Linked DNA regions of Homo sapiens: all the other regions are linked to region 5. The links are contacts of gene promoters, found by promoter capture Hi-C in human tissues and cell types (Jung and others, 2019). All regions are on one chromosome and are shown on one strand. Each heading gives the region's core, a stretch centred on a gene start or on the middle of the fragment in contact. The rest is flanking DNA. Distances are from core to core; before and after follow the strand shown.

What was found. The method cuts DNA at HindIII sites, captures the fragments that hold promoters and counts their contacts. A contact is called where the count stands out against the background at its distance.
Region 1: a contact is called between a fragment that was not itself captured here and the fragment with the promoter of CLIC6 in region 5, in 1 of the 25 tissues and cell types used here (dorsolateral prefrontal cortex).
Region 2: a contact is called between a fragment that was not itself captured here and the fragment with the promoter of CLIC6 in region 5, in 1 of the 25 tissues and cell types used here (dorsolateral prefrontal cortex).
Region 3: a fragment that was not itself captured here is called in contact with the fragment with the promoter of CLIC6 in region 5 in 2 of the 25 tissues and cell types used here (H1 embryonic stem cells and lymphoblastoid cells).
Region 4: a contact is called between a fragment that was not itself captured here and the fragment with the promoter of CLIC6 in region 5, in 1 of the 25 tissues and cell types used here (dorsolateral prefrontal cortex).
Region 6: a fragment that was not itself captured here is called in contact with the fragment with the promoter of CLIC6 in region 5 in 1 of the 25 tissues and cell types used here (dorsolateral prefrontal cortex).
Region 7: a contact is called between a fragment that was not itself captured here and the fragment with the promoter of CLIC6 in region 5, in 1 of the 25 tissues and cell types used here (spleen).

The regions. Positions count from the first base shown.
Region 1 is chr21:35,689,090-35,692,794 of GRCh38, reverse strand. No RefSeq gene overlaps it. Among named protein-coding and RNA genes, the nearest start is that of MIR802, 30 kb to the left of the region's middle. The HindIII fragment of the contact is 3,880 bases long and covers 1-3,705 here.
Region 2 is chr21:35,825,655-35,829,596 of GRCh38, reverse strand. No RefSeq gene overlaps it. Among named protein-coding and RNA genes, the nearest start is that of MIR802, 110 kb to the right of the region's middle. The HindIII fragment of the contact is 5,199 bases long and covers 1-3,942 here.
Region 3 is chr21:35,842,724-35,846,569 of GRCh38, reverse strand. No RefSeq gene overlaps it. Among named protein-coding and RNA genes, the nearest start is that of MIR802, 120 kb to the right of the region's middle. The HindIII fragment of the contact is 5,825 bases long and covers 1-3,846 here.
Region 4 is chr21:35,905,474-35,909,472 of GRCh38, reverse strand. No RefSeq gene overlaps it. Among named protein-coding and RNA genes, the nearest start is that of LINC01436, 98 kb to the left of the region's middle. The HindIII fragment of the contact is 5,202 bases long and covers 1-3,908 here.
Region 5 is chr21:34,667,066-34,670,641 of GRCh38, reverse strand. CLIC6 (chloride intracellular channel 6) reads right to left here and starts at 1,648. Exons shown (of 6, transcript NM_053277.3): 1 at 1-1,648. The coding sequence starts at 1,253. RefSeq lists silencers at 1-15, 916-1,355. The HindIII fragment of the contact is 4,429 bases long and covers 1-3,009 here.
Region 6 is chr21:35,881,460-35,885,216 of GRCh38, reverse strand. No RefSeq gene overlaps it. Among named protein-coding and RNA genes, the nearest start is that of LINC01436, 120 kb to the left of the region's middle. The HindIII fragment of the contact is 7,484 bases long and covers 1-3,757 here.
Region 7 is chr21:35,707,423-35,711,226 of GRCh38, reverse strand. No RefSeq gene overlaps it. Among named protein-coding and RNA genes, the nearest start is that of MIR802, 11 kb to the left of the region's middle. The HindIII fragment of the contact is 5,563 bases long and covers 1-3,804 here.

The DNA.
Region 1 (3,705 bases), core at 539-3,038, 1.0 Mb before region 5:
GCCAGTGATGGGGATTTCCATAAGAGCTATCATCCGGCCATGTCCAGTGGATGGCTTCTCTGCATGAAGAGAAGGGAAAGTACCTGTTCCAAAGTGCTCTTCAGCATTTCTCCCTGTATTTCCAACATCTCTTTCCTGTTGGCTCCTTTCTAGCAAGTAGTTGCAGAGATTTCACAAAGGGAAGAAAGAAAAGTCCATCTTGTTCTCATGGTAGCTCCAACACTGTAGGTATGGGCTGTCCTCACTTTGCCTGGTGGTGTGAAACCATGAAAATGACTGTGCAAGCTGAAACCATGCAAAGCCATCTTAATAACAAAAGAAAAACTTACACAGAGGAAGGAAAGCTCTGGAGTTCCGGAAGTAAGTTTTGAGCTCTATTTATCTAAGGAATTACAGCACAAAAGCAAACCACTTGCATTTAATATGTCTCGCAGCTCCCTTATGTTTGCTTCTTATTAAAAAAGTCCTTTGTTTTGGTGCATGGATGAGAGAATCTGGGTCTTCGGCTCGTGTGGATGATTATTGGAGGAGTGTTCCATCTATTAGGATAATAGTTCCGTGGAATTCCTTTTAATATAATTGGATACTCCAGTTGGTGATTTTGCAACAGATGCACGTGGTAAAGAGGTCCTCTGCATTTGAATAGACTTTTCCATTAAGAAAGCATGCTTTTCTGGAGAGAGAGAGAGAGAGAGAGAGAGACTACAGCCCACACTGAGGCTTCTTAAGATCATAATGAATGAAAACTGATAAAAGAATGGTAAAAAAAAAAAAGGAAGATGACCACAGAGGCAGAAAGCAGTCTTAAAAAACGAAAGAAAGAAAGAAAGAAAGAAAATAATGCAGGCAGGAACAAGAGCAAGTGAAAAGGAAATGACATCGTGATTTGCAGAGGACATTGTGAAAAAGCCACCCCATAACTCCTCTGTGAACTCGTTTTAAAGAATAATTCTTGTTGGGAGATGGTACAAAGATTTCTGGGATTAGTGGCACTGATTTTTTCCCCCAGGACTTCAATGGTTTTACATTTTTGGCATGTGGTTCCTCATCTGTTGGTTGTAAATGTTACTGAAATACAAGGGGTTTGGTCTAGGTCCTGCTGCTCACTGCACAGAAAGCCAATCACAGAGATGACAAGTATTGCCAAGAAAGAAAGCTTTAATCAGGTGCTGCAGCTGAGGAGATGGGAGCTCAGTCTCAAATTCATCTCCCTGAGGGACTAAAGCTAGGGATTTATGTAGCATAGAAGAAATGAAAGAAACCAAACAATGTGTAAGAAAATAGAAACTAGGGAGGGGCAAGGAAGCAATCATGATGAATGAGGGCCCCCACATCTCATTGTCTGGATGTGGTGATCTGCTGAGTTTCAGTTCTTTGATACTTTTTTTTTTTTTTTTTTTGGAGGCAGAGTCTCGCTTTGTTACCCAGACAAATACAATGTTGCGATCTCAGCTCACAGCAACCTCTGCCTCCCAGGCTCAAGGCATTCTCATGCCTCAGCCTCCAGAGTAGTTGGGATTACAGGCATGCGCCACCACGCCTGGCTAATTTTTATATTTTCAGTAGAGACAGGGTTTCGCCATGTTGGCCAGGCTGGTCTTGAACTCCTGGCCTCAAGTGATCCATCTGCTTTGGCCTCTGAAAGTGCTGAGGTTACAGGCATGAGCCACCGTGCCTGGCCCTTTGATACTTCTTTGAGAGGCCTGAAGGTCATTTTCTGAAGAAGGAACTCAGATAAAACAAATGTAAGTTTCCAGCTTTAAGACCAGAACGATCAATTTCTGTGTTTATCCCAAAAATTATCTATAGAACTGTTGATTAGGTTTCATACGAAGGGATGGAAATGCAGCCATGAACTTTTGGGAAGTTGTTGCCTCCCTTAGTTCTGAAGGGGTGGGGGAGGAAGGGTGTACCTTGGGGAGAGGAGTCTTGATGGGGGTTGTGGCAGCAAGCAGAGGACAACAGTCATTGCAAAACCCTTCAGCCTCCTACTGGATCTCCCATAGAACACAGGCTGAGAAGCTGGGTTTCAGTCATATTTCACTGTAAGTTAAAATAGTGTCTTGGGTCAGGCCCAAAGAGGCAGTGATGTGGTTGTTAAAGTCATACGCAACTAAAAACTGCTTTCTTGGTTTGCAAATAAACCAGTGAGCAAATATCTCAGCTGTTCTTTCTGGAAGCCCTTCACATTTTCCCTTTGCATCAAGATAGCCAAGTTGAGTTAGCACAAGCCATGGAAATCCTTCGGCTGCATCTGTGTTCTGGGGCTGCTTGTTTCTCACTATCATTTAGTGCAGGCCCTTCACAAACAGAGAAAAACATATTGATCCCTTCCTTCAAAGCCATACATTTTAATACAGTTTAACATACCGAGTTGTCAGGGTTTGATCTCTGGGGTCACAGTTCAAACTCCTTCTAATTCTATTGCCTATATTTCTAAATTTCTTGGGCAGTTTCAAGCACAAGCCAATCAGTGTCAATAAAAAAAAAAAAAAAAAAGGAAAAAGACAGGGTCATACTCTGTGCAGGCTCTGATGGCTTTTTGGATGGTTTCCTTTGGTGGTAGGAAGGTGGTTATTTTTGTTGTTTAATTAGGCATTTCTTTTCCTTACTCCTGTATCAGAGAACACAAGTGAATACAAACTGTATCAGAGGACATAAGTGAGTTCTGAGCCCTTATAGCTTTTGAAGTAAAGAGAAACCTCCTTGCCCCAAAGGAAACTGAATCCATGTGGTGGATGGATGTGATCGTTAATTTTATGCGTCAGCTGGCTAGAGGACAGTTGTTTGGTCAAACACTACTCCAGATGTTGCTGTGAAGGTATATTTTAGATATAATTAACATTTACATCAATTGACTTTAGGTAAAGCACATTTCCTTCTATAACATGTCTTTGTTCATAAGAACAAAGACCAAGATTCCCTGAATGGAGACAGAATTTCTTCTTCGACTGCAACGTTGAAATTCTGCCTGAGTTTCTAGCATTTGAACTCAAGACTGCAAAATCGACTCTTACCTCAGCCTGTTGGCTTGCCTTATAGATTTTAGATTTGCCAGCCCCCACAATTGCGTAAGCCAATTTCTTAAACTATGCTGTTAGTTTTTCTTTCTCTGGGGGAACTCTGGGAAGGGATTTGGGGGTTAATACTGACCATGGTAAAGATCTGCTTGTCCATGGACCATAGCACAAAGAGCTACTGTCTCGCCACATATGTGCGTGGCTTCTGCAGTGAGGCTCATGGAATGGGAAGTCACATAGGAGGGTTTCCCCAGCAGATTCCTGGCAGGAAAGAGATGACCCATTCCAGGAGTTCATTGAAGAAGCTATTTCAGAGGTCAAGGGGTAAAGGAATCAAGGCAGTGGTGTACCCAGTGGGGAGCATCAGTGAAATCTGTTAGTGCCCTGGGGCCTGAAGGGACAGGGCGAGTAGATGAGATGTATGGGAAAGGCCTCTCCTGATGGGGCTTGGGGCTACAGGCAGAGGAGCGCAGCTAGGGGCAAGACTGAGGGTTGGCACAGAGGATGTGGAGGAATAAGTGTCCTGGCCTTTCTCCCCTCCAGCCCCAATCTCCTGACAGTGCCTCCCTTTGGTTGAGCCCAAGCAGAAGACTCAGAGCAAGGAGGCCCATTGGTGACATTTATAGGGCTAGACTCCTGGGACATCAAACATGGAAGAAAAGACCAGAGAATTTGACTTGTTGGG
Region 2 (3,942 bases), core at 276-2,775, 1.2 Mb before region 5:
TTTGCTGTCTAAAGGGTAACAACCCTTTTATCTTTAAACTGGGTCTTCCTTTCCCCAGGTTTGGCGCTGCACCTCTGTCTCTGGGAAGCAATTATCCCCCGTCTCCCAGGTGCCTTAAACTCAGCATCAGTCATTTTTCCTTGATTGTTCACATCTATTCTCCGTTTTAAATGTGGGCACAAAAGCCCTGGAGTCACTTAAGCTTGAAACCTGAGAGACTTTCTCAGTCCACCCTGCCCCCACACCTCTATCCTCTACGTCTAAGTGGTCACCGATCTTGTTACTGATTTTTCATGGTCACCCTCTCACTGGTCCTGGCACGTGGCCCAGCTTTATGCCTCCTTCCCCTTTTCTTGCCTTCCTCGACAGCTTCCATGTTCTAACCTGTGGCTTTGCTCACCTGTTTGCATCCTGCTGGACTGTGCTTCCCTCCCCCACTGTTTTCCCTTTAACCAGTGAACTTTAAGACTTTAAGACTCACATCAGGCCTCACCTTTTATTTGAAAGGAATCAGGAATTACTTAATTGTTTTCAGAATCTGATTTGCTCTTGCATTTTCCATCTTCCTAGATTACACCCCTCTCTCTCCACCTGTCCCAGTTGGAAAGTCTTGAATCATTTCCCCTCATTCCAGATGGTGTCAGTTACCAGATATTGACATACTACTGAATTTTGGTTATTCTTTTTTGTTTCCATCATTACCTTCCAGGTGTAAGCCCACCTGCTTTTTGTGTAAGCCAGTGCATTTATCTCTTAGAGAATCTTTCCTCCTCTTTCTCCAGCTTCCATGTTGTCTTTAGGGTTACCCTCAGATTCATCTGTCTAAAGTGCTTTGTTCAAAACCTTCTCCGGACCCGTGTCCTGCAGAGAAATGTTCACTTTAGCATGGCATTTGGAGCTATTTACAATCTGATCTTAATTTATCACCTTAGCAACAGGTGCTCTCAGTCCCCAGACACCCTGCCTCAGAGCTGTGCCATCCAGTCTCACGCCTTTAGTCTATGGCCATATTGTTCTTGACTGAGGTCTTCTTCCCTGGTTGTTGAAATCTTACCTACCTTTTATGAGCTAATTTAAATGGAACTACCGGCCAGGCATGGTGGCTCATGCCTGTAATCCCAACACTTCGGGAGGCTGGAGATGGAGTCTAATACAAGAAACTGTCCCATATGCTCTTCAGAATCCTGAAGTTTACCTTGGTTCCCTTTAAAGTCTTTTTTTATGATTGATGAGTCATTTCAGCATTGTGCTGAATTCAAAGGCCCTCAATAAAAGATACAATCAAATATGGATGGGTCACCTGAGCCCAGGAGTTGGAGACCAGCCTGGGCAGCATGGCAAAACCCCAACTCTGCTAAAATACAAAAACTAACCAGGTGTGGTGGTGGGCGCCTGTAATCTCAGCTACTTGGGAGGCTGAGATGACAGAATCGTTTGAGCCCTGGAGGTCGAGGCTGCAGTGAGCCATGATAGCACCGCTGCACTCCAGCCTGGTGTTTAAAAAAAAAAAAAATTAAAACTACCATGTATAGAGCCTCCAGATTCCCCTAGTGAGAACAGAGTGCATTTTCCTTTGCAGCCTCCATCTCTTGCTACAGAATAAATACTTCTATTTTGCTATGTATCACAGTCTGGCCAGCATTATGGATATTTAGTTATCTATTTTCTTCTGGATGCCTTAGAGATGTGTTTTACTGCTGTTTGTGTGCCTCACTACTGAGTCCATTGTAAGCCATGGGAGATCCTGTATTTTAAATTGATATTTTGAAAAGAGAGTTCTTTATGTTTGGTTGGTGTTCCTTTTTTAAACTTCACTATCATCATTTCTAAAATCTCTATTAACATTATCAACACACACTGATTATCTTTTGCCTTTTTACAAATGTAATACAGCAAAACACTCAATACTTTGAAAACATTTTGAATTCATGTAAGTATGACTGAAAAATGTTTCCGAAATGTTGATTTGAAAACAATTGCTTGATGGATTTCAACTTTATGTTTCAAACTAGGGCCTATGTAGACTAAGCTGGAATTAAGCACCACACAGTTTCTCTGGATTTGGCCAAGCATGGCTCCCACCCAAGGGAGTTCACCTTGTTTTTCATTTACAGTGACCTCTGATGCTCAGGGAATGGATCAGTAGAAAAGAATAGCCTAAAACATATCTTGCTACAGAATAAATGAATGTCAGATGAAATGCACACACACATATGTGTGTATATTATATTTATATATATACACATATATATGAATCTGAACATGCGGACAGCAGATGATTTTTAGATGTGACTAACATACTCATTATGTCTTTAGAGCAAAATCCTCCACCAGGCTTATTGTCCTGAAGTTGAAATACAATAAGTTCACTGTCCAGTATGCTCCTCAGAATCCTGAAGTTTAGCTTGGATCCCTTTGAAGTCTTTTATTATGATTGATGAATCATTTCAGCATTGTGCTAAATTCAAAGGCCCTTAATAAAAGATAAAATCAAATGACTTACCAATCAAGAATACCACAAAAGACTGGAAATCAGGTGAAAATGTGGCATGAGCAGTAATACTAAACTTAAAGGCCTGTATCAATCACTATACATTTCCAAAAAGTTTGGAAACATTTAAAACTTTGAAAAGGTGCACATGACTGATTGCAGAAACTATCTGGGAAATATTTGAGTGCTGTTTGTGATAGAAATAAATTCCCGTTTGATACCCTTCTCCAGTAAATGTTTTATAATAGAGTTTGGCATCACAGAGCATGGGTGGAGAAAGATCTGTACCTTCCTGTTTGACAGCAGAGAGTCCCAGGAGGTGGCTGGGCTTTGGTCCCTGTGTCTGCGTCAGCCCCTGATGGGACAAAACTTGCTTTTTTTTTCTTCTATGAGACGGAGTTTCGCTCCTGTTCCCAGGCTGGAGTGCAGTGGCATGATCTTGGCTTACTGCAACCTCCACCTCCAGGTTCAAGCAATTCTCTTGCCTCAGCCTCCTGAGTAGCTGGGATTACAGGCGCCTGCCACCATGCCTGTCTAATTTTTTGTATTTTCAGTAGAGACAGGGTTTCACCATATTGGCCAGGCTGGTCTTGAACTCCTGGCCTCAGGTGATCTGCCCACCTCGGCCTTCCGAAGTGCTGGGATTACAGGCGTGAGCCACCACACCGGGTCAGCTTGCCCTTTTTTAGAGAGGCTGGTATTATGTTTAGATGGAAAGGGTAATTTTGACTTAGATTAAGAAGACTTAGATTATTACCCACAGGCTAAGATTTTGGTGTTCTTGGCAAGGACTGTTGAGGATATGACTTACCCTGTATTCCACTCTCAATACTGCAAGATGGCTGGGCACAAGACTGAAATGCTAACACCTCCGGGAGGGGGATTAATAAATTCCCGATGAAACCTACAACAGAAGAACTACCTTGTCCTCTATTTGTGAGAAAAGAGGAAGTCAGTGGGTGACCATGATTTTTCCCGGGAGAGCAAACAGACTGAGGTCTCCAGACCACCCTGGCAAGCATCCAGATCATACCAGGGAGGCAGCACATTCAAAAGAGGTTTTCAAAATGAAGATCAGCATCTGATCATTTTGTTCTCCAATTTTTTAAAACGAGGAATAATCAGCACATGATGTGTTAGGACAGCATATTAGTCAGGGTTCTCTAGAGGGACAGAACTAATAGGATAGATGTATATAGAGAGGAGAGTTTATTAAGGTGTGTTGACTCACACAGTCACAAGGGTGAGGTCCCACAATAGGCCATCTGCAAGCTGAGGAGAAAGGAAGCCAGTCCAAGTCTTAAAGCTTAAGAACTTGGAGTCCAGTGTTTGAGGGCAGGAAGCATCCAGCATGGGAGAAAGACGGAGGCCAGAAGACTAAACCAGTCTAGTCTTTCCATGTTCTTCTGCCTTTTATTCTGGCCGTGCTGGCAGCTGATTAGATGGTGCCT
Region 3 (3,846 bases), core at 1,232-3,731, 1.2 Mb before region 5:
AAAGCACTGGGATTCCAGGTGTGAGCCAGAATCTGGGTTTTGATCAAGTCCCCACGCTTTCAGCACAGCCAGCGCCTTGGGGAAAGCTGAGCTCACTTAGCCTGAGAGGTGGCCCAACAGCGAATTATTCAAAAGATTATTGCCACTCCCCTCACCAGTGGTTGGCGGAGTGACACACATGTGAACTAAATTTTGGCCAATGAAATGTAAAGGTAGTTCTGGTTAGGGGGAGGAAAGAGGCGTTGACTTGGAAATGTCTTCTCATGCCTGACGGCAGGTACAGAAAGAGAAACTCCCTTCACCCTCCAGATAGCATAGTGTCTGAATGTGGTGTCTAGAACTGGGGCAGACATCTTACTACAGCTTGAAGATGAAGCCAGCACTGGGGATGACAAACGAGGGAAAGAGACAGGGTCCTTGACGATGGTGCAGCACCACTGATGCCCACACTGCCTCTGGGCTCCTGTTAAATGACATGAATATGTTTCCTTATAGTTTCAGCCCATGGGAATCAGTGCTTCTGCTACCCATTGGTGAAAGCATGATGGCCTTCCTGGAGGGAGTGGCACCCAGGACATCTGAAAGATGAGAAGGAGAAAAGGGAGAAAGGGGTTAACGTGTTCTAGGCAGAGAGAACAACATCTGTGAAGGCTTGAAGGAGTGAGACTATCACCCTTGCATTTGAGACACTGAAAAAATGTAGCCTGTCTGGCACTACATGGGGCTGGCGACACATATGAAAATGGGAAAGAAGGAGGAAAACTAGAGAGGGAAAAGGCGAGCAGACAGAAACAGGAGCCAGAGTAGAAACAAGGAGAGGAGGTTATGAGGTTTCGTGTGGGGAGACTGAGGGTGAGGTATCAATTAGGGGAATGTTAAATTGTTTTCATTTACAGACATAAAATTAGATACTTGAGCCAGGCAGTGGCACCATTGGTGGATGGAAAAGGTGCCAGGCTCAGCATCTGACCATCAGTGAGCCTCAGAGGGGACAGAGACTGCAAAGCCGATGCAAAGAATCTTCGATGACTCAAAAGGTGCAGCTCTCATGAAAAGCCAGTTAGGAAGGGGGCCTGGGTTGGAGTAGGGGGAGGTGGGGGAGAAGGGGAGAGAGGCAGTGGCCCTCAGTTGTGGGTTTCCTGAGTGTGAGGTGCTGATGGGACACACACACATAGTGGTGGATGGGCCTCATGCAGCACTGTTAGCAGGCGAGACTCCAACAGCTCTGAGCTCAAGGGGCCATCTTGGCTACCTGGACCATCCACAGGACTGAATGGGGGTGCAAGTTCTGTTCCCTCTCAGCTCCCCATCTGCAGGTGGTGACAGACAGGGTTGAGCGCTGACTGGCTCTCTCCATGCTGACCCTCTTGGTCCTGCATCCAGCTTAGGTCCTCTCCCCAGCATTTCCTCCCTTTTTGGCCTGTTCAGGGTCTGGGCGGGGCACTTGGACCCTCCTCTATTCTCTCAGGGCTAGAACTTTAGATCCCAGGGCAAGGCTTAGCCTCCTGAGTTACAAAATACCCAAGTCTTGTTAATCAAAAGCCTTGATTTTCAAGATGATCATCCCTGCTCTGTTACAATGTAAAGATCTATCTGGGAATTCCATGCTCTTTGTGCCCACATTCTGCTGGGCTGGTCTTTGAATGTCTAGTTTTAACGGGCGGGAAGCCATAGTTCATGTATCAAGTGGCTACCGCAGCACAGGTAGCAGCCGGGGAGATGGAAAGAGATAGAAATGAGGCCTGCTAGGGCGAGACAGAGGGAACAACAGAACTGTGGGTTGATCAGAGACTGAAATTCAGAAATGCCCTCAGCCCTCATGAAGTCCACAGCCATGGAGGCCAAATGCTTCATGTCATCCCCTCTCATTGTCCGAGGCTTCACTTAGGGTTTGGAGGTGGGAAAGAGGTGTCTCCCTGAGCTCAAAGGCTGTTTTTGGGGGCCTGAAACCATACAGGATGTACAATAGGAGTGCAGGTGGTTTGGGGCCAACATCCCAAGTGGAGCGCCAACATGCTCTCTGGTTCTGGGAAGATGTGGAGGAAACCCTTTGGCACCAAGCAAATAAACAAACACACACCCAAACAAAACAACATGAAAAGCCCCATGCTGAAAACTTTCCACTTGCCAACATGTTTTTGTCGCTGCCAAAGGTTTAGGATTGCAACATTTGGGCGTCTTTGGCCACAAACCCGAGGACTCTGCAGTTTTCCCAAAGCACCTAAAATAAAGAATTCTCTTTGGCAAAAACAGCATGTTTGTAAACAGAAAGCCTTTATTTTTGAGAAACTCAATTCCTCCTTAGGTGCAGAGTATTCAGAATAAAGTCCCAAGGCTATTTTTCATGTGCTTTTCCTACTCCAGATTGTCACAGGCAGGTAGAACCTATCTCTCGTTTGTGTGTGTGTGGTTTTCATTAACTGGGTGTGTGTTTGGAATGCGGGCTTGTCAGCCAATTGTGGATTTCCTTCTAATGCTGGAGAGAAAGGCTCAGATGAGGCCCTGGATTCTTCCAGACTTGGGTTTCTTCTGCCACAGGACCATGAAGCTGGGAGCTTCCCAGAGAGAGAGGCCGGCCTTCTTGATTCTCATCAGAAAACTCACCCCACTCACCTGAAAGTAGAGGCTTTACCAAGCAAAGATCTGAAGTTGGAGTAGCTTGTTTTCTAGTTGCTTCTTTTAGCAACCTCATTGCTAAAAACGAATTTTCTTTTCCTTCCCAGGAGTCCAGGTGTCACTATTTTCTTTCCCTTCTCACTGTCAAAACCTGTTTGCAGAGAAGGCTCATGACCTTCTTACTTTAGAGGGTTGTCCAAGATCACTAGCTACATTTTATACAGGATTCTCACAAGTATTGGTTTTAGTCAGAGTTCTCTAGAAGATGGATGGATCTATCTATCTATCTATCTATCTATCTATCTATCTATCTGATCTGTCTTTATCCATCCATTCATCTCTCTCTCTCTCTCTCTCTCCATCAATCTATCTTTTGGATCTTGAAGCTTAGAACGATCCTTAAAGACCTATAGGATACAGGAATATGGCCCCTCTCATATCACCATTTAATTAATTTGGTCCCGGGAGAAACCAGACAGATCCTGGAGGATGATAGACTCCTGCCAACTCAAACAAGTAGCAGCCCACAGCTGGCTGTGGTGCATCTATCCAGCCATCCATCCATCCATCCGTCTACATATCCATCCATCTATCAATTTATCTATCTATTCTATCTGTCTGCCTATCTGCCTATCTTATTTATCCTATCATTATCTATCTATCTAATATATATCAATTATCTATCTACCTATCTGTCCATAGAGAGATATAAGAGGGGATTTATTAGGGGAATTGGCTCACTTGATCATGGAGGTTACAGAGTCCCATGATAGGCCATCTGCAAGCTGGGGAACCAGGCAAGCCAGTGACATGGCTCAGTTCAAGTTCCTTGGTCTCAGAAGCAAGGAAGCCAATGTTGTAACTCTCAATTCCAGGATGAAGGCCTAAGAGACTGGGGGACACTGGTGCGAGTCCTAGAGTCCTAAGGCTGGGGAACCTGCAGTTGTGATGTCCATGGGTGGGAGAAGAAGGATGTCCTGGCTTTGGAAGAAAGCTCAAATTTGCCCTTCCTCTGCCTCCCGTTCTGTCAGAGTCCCCAGCTGATCAGATGGTGCCCACCACACCAAGGGGGTCTTCCCTCTCAGTCCGTGGACTCAAATGCCAGTCTCCTCTGGAAACACCTTACAGACACAGCTGGGGCAGCCCAGTTATTCTAGTCAAATGCCAAACCACGTGGGTTTCCTTTTCAGCAGAAGAGGGGTTGACACTCAAAGTCAACCATCACAGTAT
Region 4 (3,999 bases), core at 58-2,557, 1.2 Mb before region 5:
AACATATGTTTTTGGGTTTGTTCAGTAAATGAACAAAGAGACCATTTTTATTTCTATTGTGAAGCAGGTCTTTTGTTAGAACAAATAAGATCTTATTTCTTTGATTTTAGGTAGCAGTGTACTAAAACATTGGATGAGCCTGTGTCCTTGCTCTGAAAGACAAAACAAGAAAATCCTAGCATGGTTAACTTATGAGGGTCAAAATATCTGAGGACAAAAATGTTTACACTTAAAAATAGAAGTAGGCCCACTATGAGTGAATCTGTTAATTTTTCAGAGGAAATGAGAGGGGTGGTTAAGAGTTTATGCCCAGGATCCAGAGTGCTCGGGTTTCAATCTTTGTTCTGTCACCTATAAGATTTTGAGCAAGGAATTTAACTTCTGTGTCCCTTAATTATCTAGGATGCAAAATAGTAAACCCTCACTAGATTGTTGAGAATTTAAGTGAGTTAATATATGTAAGATTGGTGCAGTGCAGAAGGTCAGTGGTCAATAAATATTAGCAATTTCTATTTGTAATAATAATCTTTCCTCACAAATGAAGGAAATAATGTATATAGTGGTCCATTTCTAAGACAAAGTGACTTAAATTGGCTTAGGTCAGCAAACTACAGAAAAAAACAGGATATACTAGGCCCCTGCTTGGATAGCTGATGCCTGCTTGTTGGCACCCCACCCCCGTCCCTTAGTTGCCTTCACCTAATCCAAAAAAGTTTAGTCTAAGATGAAAGTTTACTAGCCTGCAAAATAGCTTGCTTTGTCTGTTCTTATGAGCTGCCCAGCTACTTAGGACATAAGTCAGATACTTAAAGAGCCCCTGAGCTGACTAGGATTGTAATGCATTGTGGGCTGCAACAAAATGCAGCAAGACAACCTTAAAGAAACCACCTAAAGCCCCAACCCAACAACCAATAGGCGACGTCTGGGAAGATTGTGACCCCATAGTTCTCAGCCTATGAGGAACTGGGGGAGGGACCTGCACACTAGGGGATAAACTGCTTGTTGTAACTGTGCTGGGTGTGCCTTCCCATCAGACACTCGATCTTGCAAGACTGTCATTAAAAGTCTCGCTTTTGCTGTTTTCCAGGTCTCTGAGTCCATTCTTTGGGTTTGGACAAGTGAGCCTCTGTCTCACAACAAATGAATGTCAGAAAGACAGCCAAGATAATTCCTAGCAGTACTGGGCACAGTGGCTCATGCCTGTAATCCTAACACTTTAGGAAGCCGAGGCAGGCAGATCACTTGTGGTCAGGAGTTCGAGACCAGCCTGGCCAACATGGTGAAAACCCATCTTCACTAAAAATACAAAAATTAACTGAGTGTGGTGGTGGGTGCCTGTAATCCCACCTACTTCGGAGGCTAAGGCACGAGAGTCACTTGAACCTGGGAGCTGCAGTGAGCTGAGATCATGCCACTGCACTCCAGCCTGGGTGACAGAGTAAGCCTCTGTCTCCAAAAAATTAGTGAAATAAAAATTCCTAGCAGGGCTTCTTTCGTGTTGAGAGAGATAATTATTAATTAATTTTACCCAACAGGTTAATGCACTTTGTTTCCTGCTCGACATTAGCCCCGAGTTTATTTTGGGGGCCCATCAGTACTCATCAAGTCAGAGGTTCTTGGGGACCACATAAAGCAGCATTGTAGTAGAGATTGGTGGGTATCTACATTTGCCTTCCAAAATCATGTAGTTTAAGATCTTCCCTTCCTGCATCTTCAGAGCATAGCCCTGGGCATTGCACAGGAGCTCATTACTGGGACCTGAGTAAATCCAAAGTGAGATCTGAGTGCATTCTGTATCTGCAGTTGATACTCCCACAGACAGAGAAAGTCAGGTTCTTAAATTCAGAACATTTAAAAAATTTAAAAGCTAACTATACATCTGTGTTTGAGAAATCCAAAGCACATGGATCTATTTTTATTTAGGAAAGGAGACAGCCAGCCTGCCTTTCTGTCACTTGTTAGTGCTTTTTTTTTTTTTTTTTTTTTTTTGAGATGGAGTCTCACTCTGTCCTCAGGCTGGAGTGCAGTGGTGCGATCTCAGCTAACTGCAACCTCCGCCTCCCAGGTTCAAGCAATTCTCATGTCTCAGCCTCCCAAGTAGCTGGGATTACAGGTGCCCACCACCATGCCCAGCTAATTTTTGTATTTTTAGTAGAGATGGGGTTTCACCATGTTGGCCAGGCTGGTCTTGAACTCCTGGCTTCAGGTAATCTGCCTGCCTTAGTCTCCCAAAGTGCTGGGATTATAGGCATGAGCCACTGCCTGGCCTCATTAGTGCTCTTAACCTTGACAGAAGACAGGTCAAGAGTTGCATGGGGGCAGTGAGTACTGATTTAAGATACACACATGTGAATCATTCTCTCTGTGGCTGTGTCTCAAGTCAGAGCATCAGACCCTTACCTCCTTCTGCTTTAGCCCTGGAAGAACTAGATTTCTGCTATTATGATGTGAAATGATGCCTTGAGCATCTATTATTTCATAGGCATAGGCAGAATGTTTGCCAACATGGTTCACTAGGCCAGGTCTTCTCAATTTGTGGCCACAGACCACTTGAGTTTCTAGTTAAAAATACCCATTTCAGTTGAAAAATACCCCTAAGATTCTCAGGATTCTAAGTGGCACCAACATATTTAGTAAAGAAGGGTAGGCTGTTATTCATAGTGTTAACCTTCAAAATATGATGACATAGCACAAATATCCCTAGCTTTCCTTTATAGCTGTTTTTGGATGCACCATCAATGGATTGATTTGAGCCCATTATTGAATGCTTTTAATATTCAGGCAATGAATTTCATTAGAGCCTCTACTGCTTCCTCTGCCTCCTCCTTCTTCTCATTGTCATTGCTGCTTCAAAGTTTTGAGAACATGCTACATGCCAAGATCCCTCTGAATGGCTCCGCAGCATCCTCCAGGTTCCTGGACTCCCCAGCTGAAGTAGCACAAGCCATTCATCCTTTTGGTTTAGGTATTAATCCAATGATGAGGTCATTCATTTGAAACTAACAAAAGCAAATCCAAAATGTTCTCTCCTTAAGGGAAAACCCAGCGTACAATTTTCTGGGTGTCGATCTAAAGTCACAAAGTTTTAAAAAGTTGTTATGGGTACTTGTGAATTTTGAAGCCATTTGAAAAGCTTAAAATTGTAAGAGATGCTTTTGAAGCCTTTGTTTGGCTAAGAAGAAATCTACTTTTTCAGCCATCTCCACTAAAAGGGTGCCCAAGTTATCAATCTGAATTTCAAGAGTTGCAAAACTGAAAACCAGCCACTGGGAGGAGGAGCTGGACAGCTTTGGAAGACAAGGAGCGGGGCTGCTGAGTTCCCTGTGGGGTTATTGAACTTGTTGCTTTGCCTTCGGTTAGAACCATACTCACCAAGTATCTCAGAGTATGAAAATCTGCACGGCGAAAAAGTAATTTCGAAAGAAGAAAATGTTCATAACCTCTTGTAGGGACTTGCGTGGGTGTTTGTCAGTCCTCGCAATCGAGAAATTCTTCCTTGGCCCTCACACAGCAGATCAATCTCAAATCTTCTGATTGGGTGCCTTTCAGGGTGCATCACATTCAATTAACAATTATTCTAGAGTAGCTCTAGGTCTGCAACTGGTTAGATCTGAGGAGAGCAAGGCCAAGTATTCGCTGGGTATTTTATGCCTTCCCACTTCTTCCTTGGCCTTAGCCTTACAAAATGCTTATGACCCTGTCTCTGAACTCTTTCTTACCCTTCCTTCTGCTTTTTCTGTTTAAGCCTTCCCCTTACCTTAAAGCACCCCTTCTTTGACTCCTGCCTGATTCTCAGCCTTTGCCGTCCTCTTCTGCTGGGAGTCTTTGAGCCAAACATGCTACTGCCCAGGCCGTCTCTGCCCTGCTCGTGGAAGGGGCTGAGGAGTTCTGGCCCAGTGCTCTGGGCTGCAATGACTCACTCTTTTGGCCCTTTCAGTCCTGCTTTGCACCCAGGTCTGCTCACTGGCTCACAAAGTCTCAAGCCACTGATCTGTCTTT
Region 5 (3,576 bases), core at 399-2,898:
GCCAGGTGGTTGCTGAGCTGGGCCTCAGGCTCCGCGGCGCCCCTGGAGGCCTCCCCATGTGGGCTGCTGTCGGGGGATTCCTCTTCGCCCCCCGCTGCTTCCTCCTCCCTTGGCCCCTCCGGGCTCCGCTCTCGTCTCTCTTCGTCCTCCCCCGGCTCCTGCTGTGGCCCATCCCCTACCCTGTCCTCGCCAGCGTCTGCCCTTGCGTCCCCGGGGGCCGCTTCTTCGGACCCCTTTACCCCCGGGACCTCCGCCTCCTCCGCTGCGTCCCAGGCGAGCTCACCGGGGCTGCGCCCCGCACTCTCCCCGGCTGCGACCTCAATTGCCTCGGCCTGGGGCGAGAGGCTGCCGTCCCCCGATTGCTGCGGCTCACCCGAGACCCGGCGCGCCCTTCCTGCCGGACCCTCGGCGTCCATGCTGTCCCCCGCCGGGCCTTCGGCTTCTACGCTGTCCCCCGCCGGGACCCCCGCTTCTACGCCGTCCCCCGCCGGGTCCCCCGCCTCTACGCTGTCCCCCACCCGGCCCTCCGCGTCTACGCTGTCCCCCGCCGGACCTTCCGCGTCTACGCTGTCCCCCACCCGGCCCTCCGCGTCTACGCTGTCCCCCGCCGGGCCCTCGGCTTGTATGTTGTCCCCCAGCGGGCCCTCCGCGTCTACGCTGTCCCCCGCCGGACCTTCCGCGTCTACGCTGTCCCCCACCCGGCCCTCCGCCTCTACGCTGTCGCCCGCCGGGCCCTCCGCTTCTATGTTGTCCCCCAGCGGGCCCTCCGCGTCTACGCTGTCCCCCGCCTCCCCGGACGCGCTACCTTCCGGGACCTCAGGCCTCTGCTCCGCCTCCTCCTGCCTCTCGGGGGCCGCAGAGTCCTCGGGCTCCCTCTGAGCCTCCCCGCGGGGCTCGCCCTGCGCGCCGCGTCCCGGGCTCGCCCCCTCCACCTGCTGCGCGCCGCTTGTCTCCTCCCCTCCTTGGGGCACCTCGGCACCCTCCGGGGCTCCCTCCTCGGCCTCAGTCTCGCCGTGCGCCCCCCTCGTGCCCCGCGCCTCGGCCTCCGGGCCCCTGTCTGGCCCGCCGCCTCCTGCCTCCTTCACAGCGGCGGCGCCCCTCGGCGCCTCCTCTGCGCCCTCGCTCCCCTCCGGCCCTTCTGCCTCCCCGCCCGCGGCTCCTGGCTCTCCGGGTCTCTCAGCCAGAGGCGCGGGGACCTCCGGCGGCCCCTGGGGACCCGGGGCAACCCCCTCCGGCTCCGCGGCCTCGGCCATGGCCGCAGATCCCTGTCCTTGATCGGGACTCCTTCCTTGACGCTGCTTAAGGGTCGGTGGCGCTGGGCAAGGGGCGTGCTACGGGGCCCTCTGTGCTCCTTGAAGGACGCCGGCTCCGGGATCCTGCGGCAAAGGTTTAGCCGGGGCACTGGGGCCTTGCGCAGGACCCGCAGGGCAAACTCCGCTTGGCCCCAAGCCTCTGCGCCCCTTCTGCCCAGCTGAAACTCCCTGGACTCTTCCTCCACTGCTGGAGCTTCTCCCCGATTGCGCGTCTGCTTCCCACCGGGACCCCAATCTCGCCCGCGGGCCGCGGAGGTGCAGTGCACGGCTGGAGAGGGCTGCTTCGCTCCTGCGCCTTTGGAAGTGCCCGGCCCGCTGTCCGCTGTCCTGGGGTTGACCAGAAGTCCTTGGTGCCAACTCCATCCCCTGGGGCTTGGGCGGGGTTTGTCTTCCCCTCCTCCCTCCTTTGTTTGGGTAGCCTAGGAGCTTGGCCAATGACAGCCTTTCTCGTGACCCTTGTGGATGTTGATGAAAAGATTCTGGTTCTCCTGGCCGCTTGGGTGTTGTTCTCTAGAATGGCTTCAAGTTCCAGAGTCACTTAAATCACCCCCTCCAAACACACACCCCGACACCCAAACACCTAATCCCCACCTTACCCCAGGAGTGAAGCATCAAGCTCCCCCGGTACCCAACTGAAGATGTCCACATTGTGCCTGATGTCCAAGAGCAAGGGTGTAAATCCCTGAGAGAAGAAGCTGGGGAGGCTACGCTGGCCGCCTTCCCATGTCTGCAGGGCCCCCGGAGAGGTTCCAGAGGCCCCTCATATAGACGCACAAGGAGCCAGTCGAGTTTCTCTGACCAGAGATGGGCGCTGTTGTCCATGAGGGTCCGCTTCTCCGGGCCTGTCTGGAGGATCGTGGGAGCCCTGCGCTGGAAAAAGGTTACACCTTCATCTCCCGGGTCTCTTAAGACTGTAAGAGTCTGTGTATCTTGCTGATTCTCCTAGATTTCTAAACTCACCACCAGTGCTTCTGCCTCCAAGTTAAGAGCTTGGGAATCTGGAGGTGGAGAAAAGAAAATCCAAGATGTGAAAGAGGGGAGCTATGGAATTCCCTGGGTTAGGGTTCTCCCAGGATCACAGACCCAATACCTACTTTAAAAAGGAAGTTATTATGGTGAAAAGTATGTCGTAAGTTTATTATAAGCCAGGCTACTTCTAGTGGGTTACCAAGAAACTGGGTTACCCAAGGTGGCACTATGTAAATGTGGTGGAACGGGGATCCCAGCTCAAGACTGACTTGATTCATCAGGCTTTATATGGCTTTGATATTGGCCTAAGATACATGAGCCCCTCATGCCCACAGAAGGTTGTTTTCGTTGAAAGAGCTGGGTGTGCCTTTGATGTGGCTTGGGGTCACACCTTTGGCCATGAACATAATGTGTCTCCTTCTACTTCCCATTGCTCATCACTGATGGATGACAGGACAGGAGCCCAGAGACACTCAGCTTCATGCTACCTTTCTCCAAGGCTGTGCTCTGTCTGGGTAGGTACAGGCCAGAAGCTTCATCACCACAAAGTGGCATCTAGTCAAAGCATGACACTCACACAGGTGAGCCAGAGATGCACGTGAGCCGTAAAAGCTCTAGGCACCTAGAAAAGGAATCCTGCTGCATTCACCGGGGCAAGGTAGCAGCCATCACCCTTATCTTGTAAAGAAAGATGAAGCCAGCACGTTCAGCCCGGAACAGCAAACACAGTACAGGTTTACAGTGCTTTATGCAAATCCCATGAGCCCGGATGTGTTTCAGAAAACAGAATTGTTAGAAAGATGATTGAGTGATTTTACTGTATATTACATAACACAGAACATCACTTTGTGATCAAACACATTAATATTTCTGCAGTAAGACAGGCATCACATTTGGTGAGATATGGTAAAATCATACAAGCTTCAGGCCCCCCACCCCCAGTTTAGGTTCACCTCCAGCTGAGTTCAAGCCTTTCTGGTTCTGATTCTAGATGAGTTCCCAAAACAGCTTTCAGTATTCAGAGCCTTTTAGGATTTCAGAATGTGTATAAAAGGATTGTGGACCTGTGAACCATTGAAGGGCTCTGGGTTTATTTGCGCTGCTTAGAAAAATGTGAGATTAGTTAGATACATAACTTTGTCCTTAATAACAAACCGTCTTCAATGCTCAATGTTTACAAAGAACCAAATTAAAGACACTCATGCGAGTAATAATATTTAGCAAATTCTTTTAGCAAAGTCAGTAGATAAGAATTTCTGTCAATAGAGTGTCTTGTGACATTAGCTTACCCCCC
Region 6 (3,757 bases), core at 1,106-3,605, 1.2 Mb before region 5:
GTTGAACTAATTTGCATTCGCACCAATAGTGTGAAAGCATTCCTATTTCTCCACAACCTCACCAGCATCTGTTGTTTTTAGACTTTTTAATAATCACCATTCTGACTGGTATGAGATGGTATCTCATTGTGGTTTTGATTTGCATTTCTCTGTTGATCAGTGATGTTGAGCCTTTTTTCATACACTTTTTGGCCACATGTATGTCTTCTCCGGAGAAGTGTCTGTTCATGTCCTTTGCCCACTTTTTAGTATTTTTTTCTTGTAAATTTGTTTAAGTTCCTTGTAGACCATGGATATTAGACTTTTGTCAGAGGGATGGATTGCAAAATGGTTCTCCCATTCTGTAGGTTTTCTGTTTACACTGATGATAGTTTGTTTTGCTGTGCAGAAGCTCTTTAGTTTAATTAGATCCCATTTGACAATTTTTGCTTTGGTGCAATTGTTTTTGGCATTTTCATCATGAAATTTTTGCCCATGCCTATGTCCTGAATGGTATTGACTAGATTTTCTTCTAGGGTTTTTCCATAGTTTGGCGTTTTACATTGAAGTCTTTAATCTATCTTGAGTTAATTTTTGTATGTGGTGTAAAGAAGGAGTCCAGTTTCAACTTTCTGCAGATGGCTAGCCAGTTCTCCCAGCACCGTTTATTAAACGGAATCCTTTCCCCATTGCTTGTTTCTGTCAGGTTTGTTGAAGGGCAGATGGTTGTAGGTGTGCAATCTTATTTCTGAGTTCTCAGTTCTGTTCCATTGGTCTATGTGTCTGTGTTTCTACCAGTACTATACTGTTTTGGTTACTGTAGTATAATTTGAAGTTGGGTAGCATGATGCCTTCAGCTTTGTTGTTTTTGCTTAGAATTGTCTTGGCTATTCAGGCTCTTTTTTGGTTTCATCTGAATTTTAAAATAGTTTCTTCTAATTCTGCAGAGAATGTCAGTGGTAGTTTAATGGGACTAGCATTGAATTACTTTGGGCAGTATGGCCATTTTCACAATCTTGATTCTTCCTATCCATGAGCATGGAATGTTTTTCCATTTGTTTGTGTCCTCTCTGATTTCCTTGAGCAGTGGTTTGTAGTTGTCTTTGAAGAGGTGGTTCACTTCCCTTGTTAGCTGTATTCTTAGGTATTTTATTCTATTCGTAGCAATTGTGAATAGGAGTTCATTCCTGATTTGGCTCTCTGTTTGCCTGTTGTTGATGTATAAGAATGCTAGTGATTTTTGCATATTGATTTTGTATCCTGAAACTTTGCTGAGGTTGCTTATCAGCTTAAGAAGCTTTTGGGCTGAGGTAATGGGGTTTTCTAGATATAAGATCATGTCATCTGCAAACAAAGATAATTTGACTTCTTCTTTTTCTATTTTAATACTTCTTATTTCTTTCTTTTGCCTGATTGCCCTGGCCAGAACTTGTCTTGTGCTGGTTTTCAAGAACTTCTTGATTTCTGCCTTACTTTGATTATTTACCCAGGAGTCATTCAGGAGCAGGTTGTTCAGTTTCCATGTAGTTATGTGGTTTTGAGTGAATTTCTTCATCTTGAGTTCTAATTTGATTGCACTGTGATCTGAGAGACTATTATGATTTTAGTTCTGTTTGCATTTGCTGAGGAGTGTTTTACTTCTGATTATGTGATCAATTTTAGAGTAAGTGCCATGTGGCAATGAGAAGAATGTATATTCTGTTGTTTTGGGTGGAGAGTTCTGTACATACCTGTCGGGTCTGCTTGACCCAGAGCTGAGTTCAGGTCCTGTACAGCACATCTTGGTTTGGATTAGCCACATTTTAAATGTTCAAAGGCCACAGTGGTTGGTGGCTGTTACATGGAACAATGCAGATCTACAGCTGTCTCTTCCTAATCAGTGGAGCTCTTTATTAAGAGGCACAAGCTGCCAACAAAGTAATGAATTTACTGTTGCTAGATTCATTCAAGCATCTAGTGCTGTGAAGTTCAAAAATTCGAGAGCCCTCCACCTGAACCTTGTTAAACTTTGTGGGCTTATCATTAATTCAGCACATCCGTGGACAGGGATGTGCTTATACAGCAAATATGCAGGAAACCATTGGCCATCAGATGACACAGACCTTTTGAAGCCACATGCCACTCACAGACCACCGAGCTTTGTGTTTGCACGTGCAGACTATTGTGCAAGCACTGGAACTCCATGTGCCGAAGGCACAGGCATCCAATGAAATATTTGAGTGGAATTTTCAACCAAAAGCAGCTGAAAGTTTTTCCAATTTAATCTGTAAACGCAGTCGGGGGATTTTTACACATGAATCAACTCGTTTACTTTGACAAGCCCTCTCTGTGCTCTGTCCGTGCCCAGTCTTCGGCTCACAAAGGTGCTCTGTGTGTAAATTTGCAGGGGGTAGGAGGAGGTGCATGGAAGTTCAAGGCAAACTTCTCTGAAAAATGCGGCATCTGGGAGCCAGGGTGGAAACGCAGGAAGGGTCCCCTGTGTGAATTTCCACCCTCCCTCACCAGAAGTGCTGTTCAAAGGGTTGAAGGTGGATTCACATTGGAATTCTATCTAATAAGATAGATGAGACTTACACTTCTGTATAAGTATTAATATAATTAATATAATTGGTGATTATATTTGAAGAATAGTTATAAGGATATTGATTTTTAAAGTCTGTGTCTCATCTTTTTCCCATTCATCTTATGCTTCATTTTGATACAGGAAAAAAAAGAGCTGTCAGAAGGATACCAGGTATCTTGTGCCTGGTCTGTGCTTGCAGGAATGTTGTGTTGTGGAGCCCATTTAAGTGGCATCTCCTTAAATGAAAGATGGGGAGTCACAATCCATAATAACAACGCCATCATAAGAACAGTGACCAACATTTATTCAACATTGATAATGTCCATGACCCTTGATATGGAACAACTCGTTTCATCCTCACAATCACCCTATGAGGTAGACACTGATACATGTCCCCATTTCACTATGGAAGAAGCTGGGACAGCGAGGTTAAATGCTTTGCCCAGGTCACCCAGCTGGTAAGGGGCAGAGATGGGGTTCAAACCCAGGTGAAGTCTTAGTTCTTTACCCAAAAGATCACAATCTGTCATGATTGGAAGCCTCCTTAAAAGTCCTCCCACCAACTTCCTACTAAGGTAAAAATCTCTTTGACCTTCCAGGCAGATGGTCATCCAGCCCATCTTGAATGCATCCAGTTGCTTGAATGCATTGAGCAACAGGGAGCACATTACTTTGTCAGCAGCCCATGCCTTTTAAGAAAAGCTCCAACAATTGGGAAATTCTTCTTTAGATGAAGCTATTTCCTACGATTAGTAAGATTTGATCCCCCTTCAATGCTCCTGGGGTACAGACTTCTTGAAACTGCTATAAGATAGAATTATACATGGTGGGACTTAAATCTCTGTATGCATGTGTTGTGTCGAATCCGTATCGACTCCAGTGGGTGTGGTACTAGATGCAAGAGGCTGAAGAAGAGACCCAGAGCCAGCAAATGAGACATGGGTTTTACTGGGGACTTACGTGCAGGGGAGAGAGTCCAGTGGTAGCAGGCTAGACAGGAGAACTGCATGGCCTAGTGGGGGCAGGCTGAGCATTATAACTGCAACTGCTTGCAAAAGGCATGCAGCTTACATCACATTTTCTTTTAGCACCCTCCGACAGTCTTCAACTGGCAACTTTCACTTACCCCAAAACAAAGGGCCTTGATTCCCAGTATGGCCTGTGTTCCATGGGCCAGGCTCGGAGCTCAGATGTTCCTCATAGAAAAGGAACAAA
Region 7 (3,804 bases), core at 709-3,208, 1.0 Mb before region 5:
CTGTATCTTAATCAAAAAGTGTTGACAAAATGCATTCTTAAGCATTTAAAAGTGATGATTTTTTTTTATTCCTTAGAGAAATGGCTTCATTTACTTACCAGAGTCCTTTATTGATGCGTGATACTGACATGACCTAGGAAGCTTGGCCTTTAATGACTTAACAGTGCTGCCATCTCACCTTGACCCTTGTTTAGGGAGAGTTATTCTGTGCAAGATGTCACAGGGAAGACTGTTTGCATTCATGAAAGTCCCTGATTTACCTCTTGTTGTTTGCTTTCCTTAGGTAAATCCACTGACGATGAGTTTGTAGATGAATAACTGTCCTGGGAAATAATTACAAATGCTTTAATTGAAGGCTACATATGTCTTCACAGAAGGTTTTTTATACCTCCTGGGTACAATGGTAGGGACCCTGAGATGGTGCAGAAAAATGAGTGTGAGGTCAAAGTGCATGCATTTGAGACAGTGGAAATCACCATCCTCCGGTAGACTTATGGGGACAAGGATACTAGGCCGAGTGTCTTAGGGGCTGAAGACAGGAGAAATTACACTGCATAGCAATGGTCCCAGGAAAAGTAAGGGAAACCCTAAAGGGAAGGGACCAGGCACCCAGTGCCAGGAGCCATATCAAACATTTCCAAAACAAGGGGTTTAGGCTCACCTGTGCAGATGAGGTCTGATAAAGAGGTCTGATGCATTCCTAGTTCCTAAGAATGTGGAAGCAGGTTTACTCTTACATGTTCAAAATGATAAAGTAGATACTTCTAGTGATGTGGCATTTGGGAAGGGACAAGAAGTGAAGGTGCCTCTGCACACCCAGATGCTGACTCCATGCAAGAGTCAGTCTGTGCTCACAGGGTTGATGGACGGAGCTGTGATTGATGGGATTGGCTGGAGTTCTCCCTGACATGCTCTGGGACCAGCTACTTGTAGAAAAAGTACTAACGAAAGACTTGGAACCAACCCAAGTGTCCATCAATGATAGACTAGATAAAGAAAATGTGGCACATATCCACCATGGAATACCATGCAGCCATAAAAAAGGATGAGTTCATGTCCTTTGCAGGGACATGGATGAAACCGGAAACCCTCATTCTCAGCAAACTAACACAAAAACAGAAAACCAAACACCACATATTCTTATGCATAAGTGGAAATTGAACAATGAGAACCCATGGACACAGGGAGGGGAACATCACACACTGGGGTGTGTTGGGGGGTGGGGGGCTAGGGGAGGGATTGCATTAGGAGAAATTCCTAATGTAGGTGACGGGTTGATGGGTGCAGTGAACCACCATGGCACGTGTGTACCTGTAATAAACTGCACATTCTGCATATGTACCCCAGAACTTAAAGTATAATAAAAAATGAAAAGAAAAAGTGCTAACCTGGAACTCAGGAGGTTCAAAACTTCTTTCCCTGGGCTGTTTATTCAGTCACAAGAAAGTCTGAGAAAGTCACTGAACCTCTGTGTCTCACTTCATTTATCTGTAAAAAAAGGATAATAATGCTTATTTCACTTGTCTCTCAGGATAAATACAAACATCAAACTTTGAAGTGGTTTAAAGATGAGAAGGAAGAAAGAAAGGAAGAAGGAAATGAGGAAGAGAGAGGGTAGGGGAGAAACATGAGTAAGAAAGAAAGGAAGGGGAAAAGGGAAAGAAAGAAGGGAGAGAGGAAGGAAAATAGTTACTTGAAATTCACCTTGCTCTGTGTTGAGATTCTGAATTAAGTGAAAGTTGGGTGCTCTGGGGGAATAGAGGTTGTACCTCTCAAAATCTGTTTCTTGGATACTTAAGCTAGAAAAACTGAGTAGTACAGCCACTGAACTTATATCCTGTATGAAAAACTCCAGTTCCAATCTCTGGAAATTTAATTGCTTGATGTGTCTTAACTTTTGTTGTTGCTGTTGTTGGCTGCAGTCATCCTTAAACTATCAGAATTCTCTTTAAAACTGCAGAACTGTGCAATATACTTTAACCACTGGGCCCTAAACCGCAAAACCCATCACAAAGTCTGGCAAAGCAGATCAACATAAGAGGATGTCTTTGAAAGACTAAGATGAACATTAAATTAATCAACCAATGCTCTAGGGGGAAATGGCCAATAATTTCAAATTTTTCATCTCTGGGAAATCAATTATTATTATGTTTATTGATGTTGTATTTGTCACTATTTTCAGCCATTTCCCCTGATGACATGGGTTAAAATAAGAACATTGTTGTAAAAGAGATTAGACGTGTTCGATTCTGTTTCTAGACTTTCCACCTCTCAGCTACCTGGGATTTGGGAGAGAAATCGAGGCCGTGGGGCAGAGGCTGAGCTGGCTTTTTTCGTTGTTGTTCCTTTCTAGCATTGCTTTTGCCTCAATAAGATTTTTAACATTTAGCTAAACACCAGCTGATGTTTATCATTTGCTGGCCGGATTTCGGAGACATGTGTATATAAAAACACTCCCTTTCCAATCAGGTTGTTTGGGGGTTGGAATTTGTTTCCTCACTCCCCGGAAGATTCTGGGGACCCTCTCCCTCAGTGTATGGGGTGGAACTCCCCCTTGTCAGCTGCAGAGAAAGGGGCATTCTGCTGATGTGTTTAATCCCCAAAATGGAATGGCCCTGACTCACGGGAACCAGTTAACACCAGCCTGTGCACATTGTTCCAAAACCTAATTGCCTATTCCGTATGGAATTCCTCTTGTCCTTTTCGAAGCACTCAGTGATTTGGAGTCACCGTAGCAGTGATCAAGACAGGTTTGTCAGCACAATGACAATATGCAGATCATTCTCCCATTTGGTTGTGTATATATTTGCATTTGCAAATATGCAAAACTGTCATATATATGGTTTGTGTATAGCAATAGAGAAATGATTCTAGAATCACAGTACATGTTCCATCATATTCTATGAAGTTAGAGAAATTTGTAGCAAATCTCACTCACACACACACACACACACACACACACACACACACACACACGTCTCTTCTAATATGCCAGGCACTATATAAATTCTGAGACACATTCTGGGAAAATAAAAAAGCAAATTGACTATACCAACTCTGCCTTTAATGAACACAGTCTAGTGAGTACATTATATTATTAAATCTTAGGTTTATACATACACATATGTTAATGTACCTCAAATAAAAATATAGTGATAATTTCTAAATGAAGCTCTTAGATGACAAATGCGTTTATAAACCTTTATTGGCTTTAGATATTTAAAAATAATACCTGCGTATGCTGTAACATATTTTAAGAACACAGACGCTTACAAAACAATCACAAAATAAACACAGAAGCCCTCTTTTCCCCTTAATCTCACTCCTCAGGTGGCTACGGTTTATAACTGTTTGATGTGTGTTCTTCCTAAATGTTTGTTTGCCTATAAAACATAAAAACAAAGAATATATGTGGTAGATTTATTTGTATGCCATCATCTCATTCTTTTTTTTTTTTTGAAATGGAGTTTTGCTCTGTCACCCAGGCTGGAGTGCAGTGGCACGATCTCAGCTCACTGCAACCTCCACCTCCCAGGTTCAAAAGATCCTCCTGCCTCAGCCTCCCAAGTAGCTGGGACTACAGGCACCCGCCACCACACCAGGCTAATTTTTTGTATTTTTAGTAGAGACAGGGTTTCACCGGGTTAGCCAGAATGGTCTCAATCTGCCGACCTCGTGATCTGCCCACCTTGGTCTCCCAAAGTGCTGGGATTACAGGCATGAACTACTGTGCCCGGCTGCCATCATCTCGTTCTTTCAAATGACTTCCTATTATTCCATATGATGGACGACATGCTATTATCT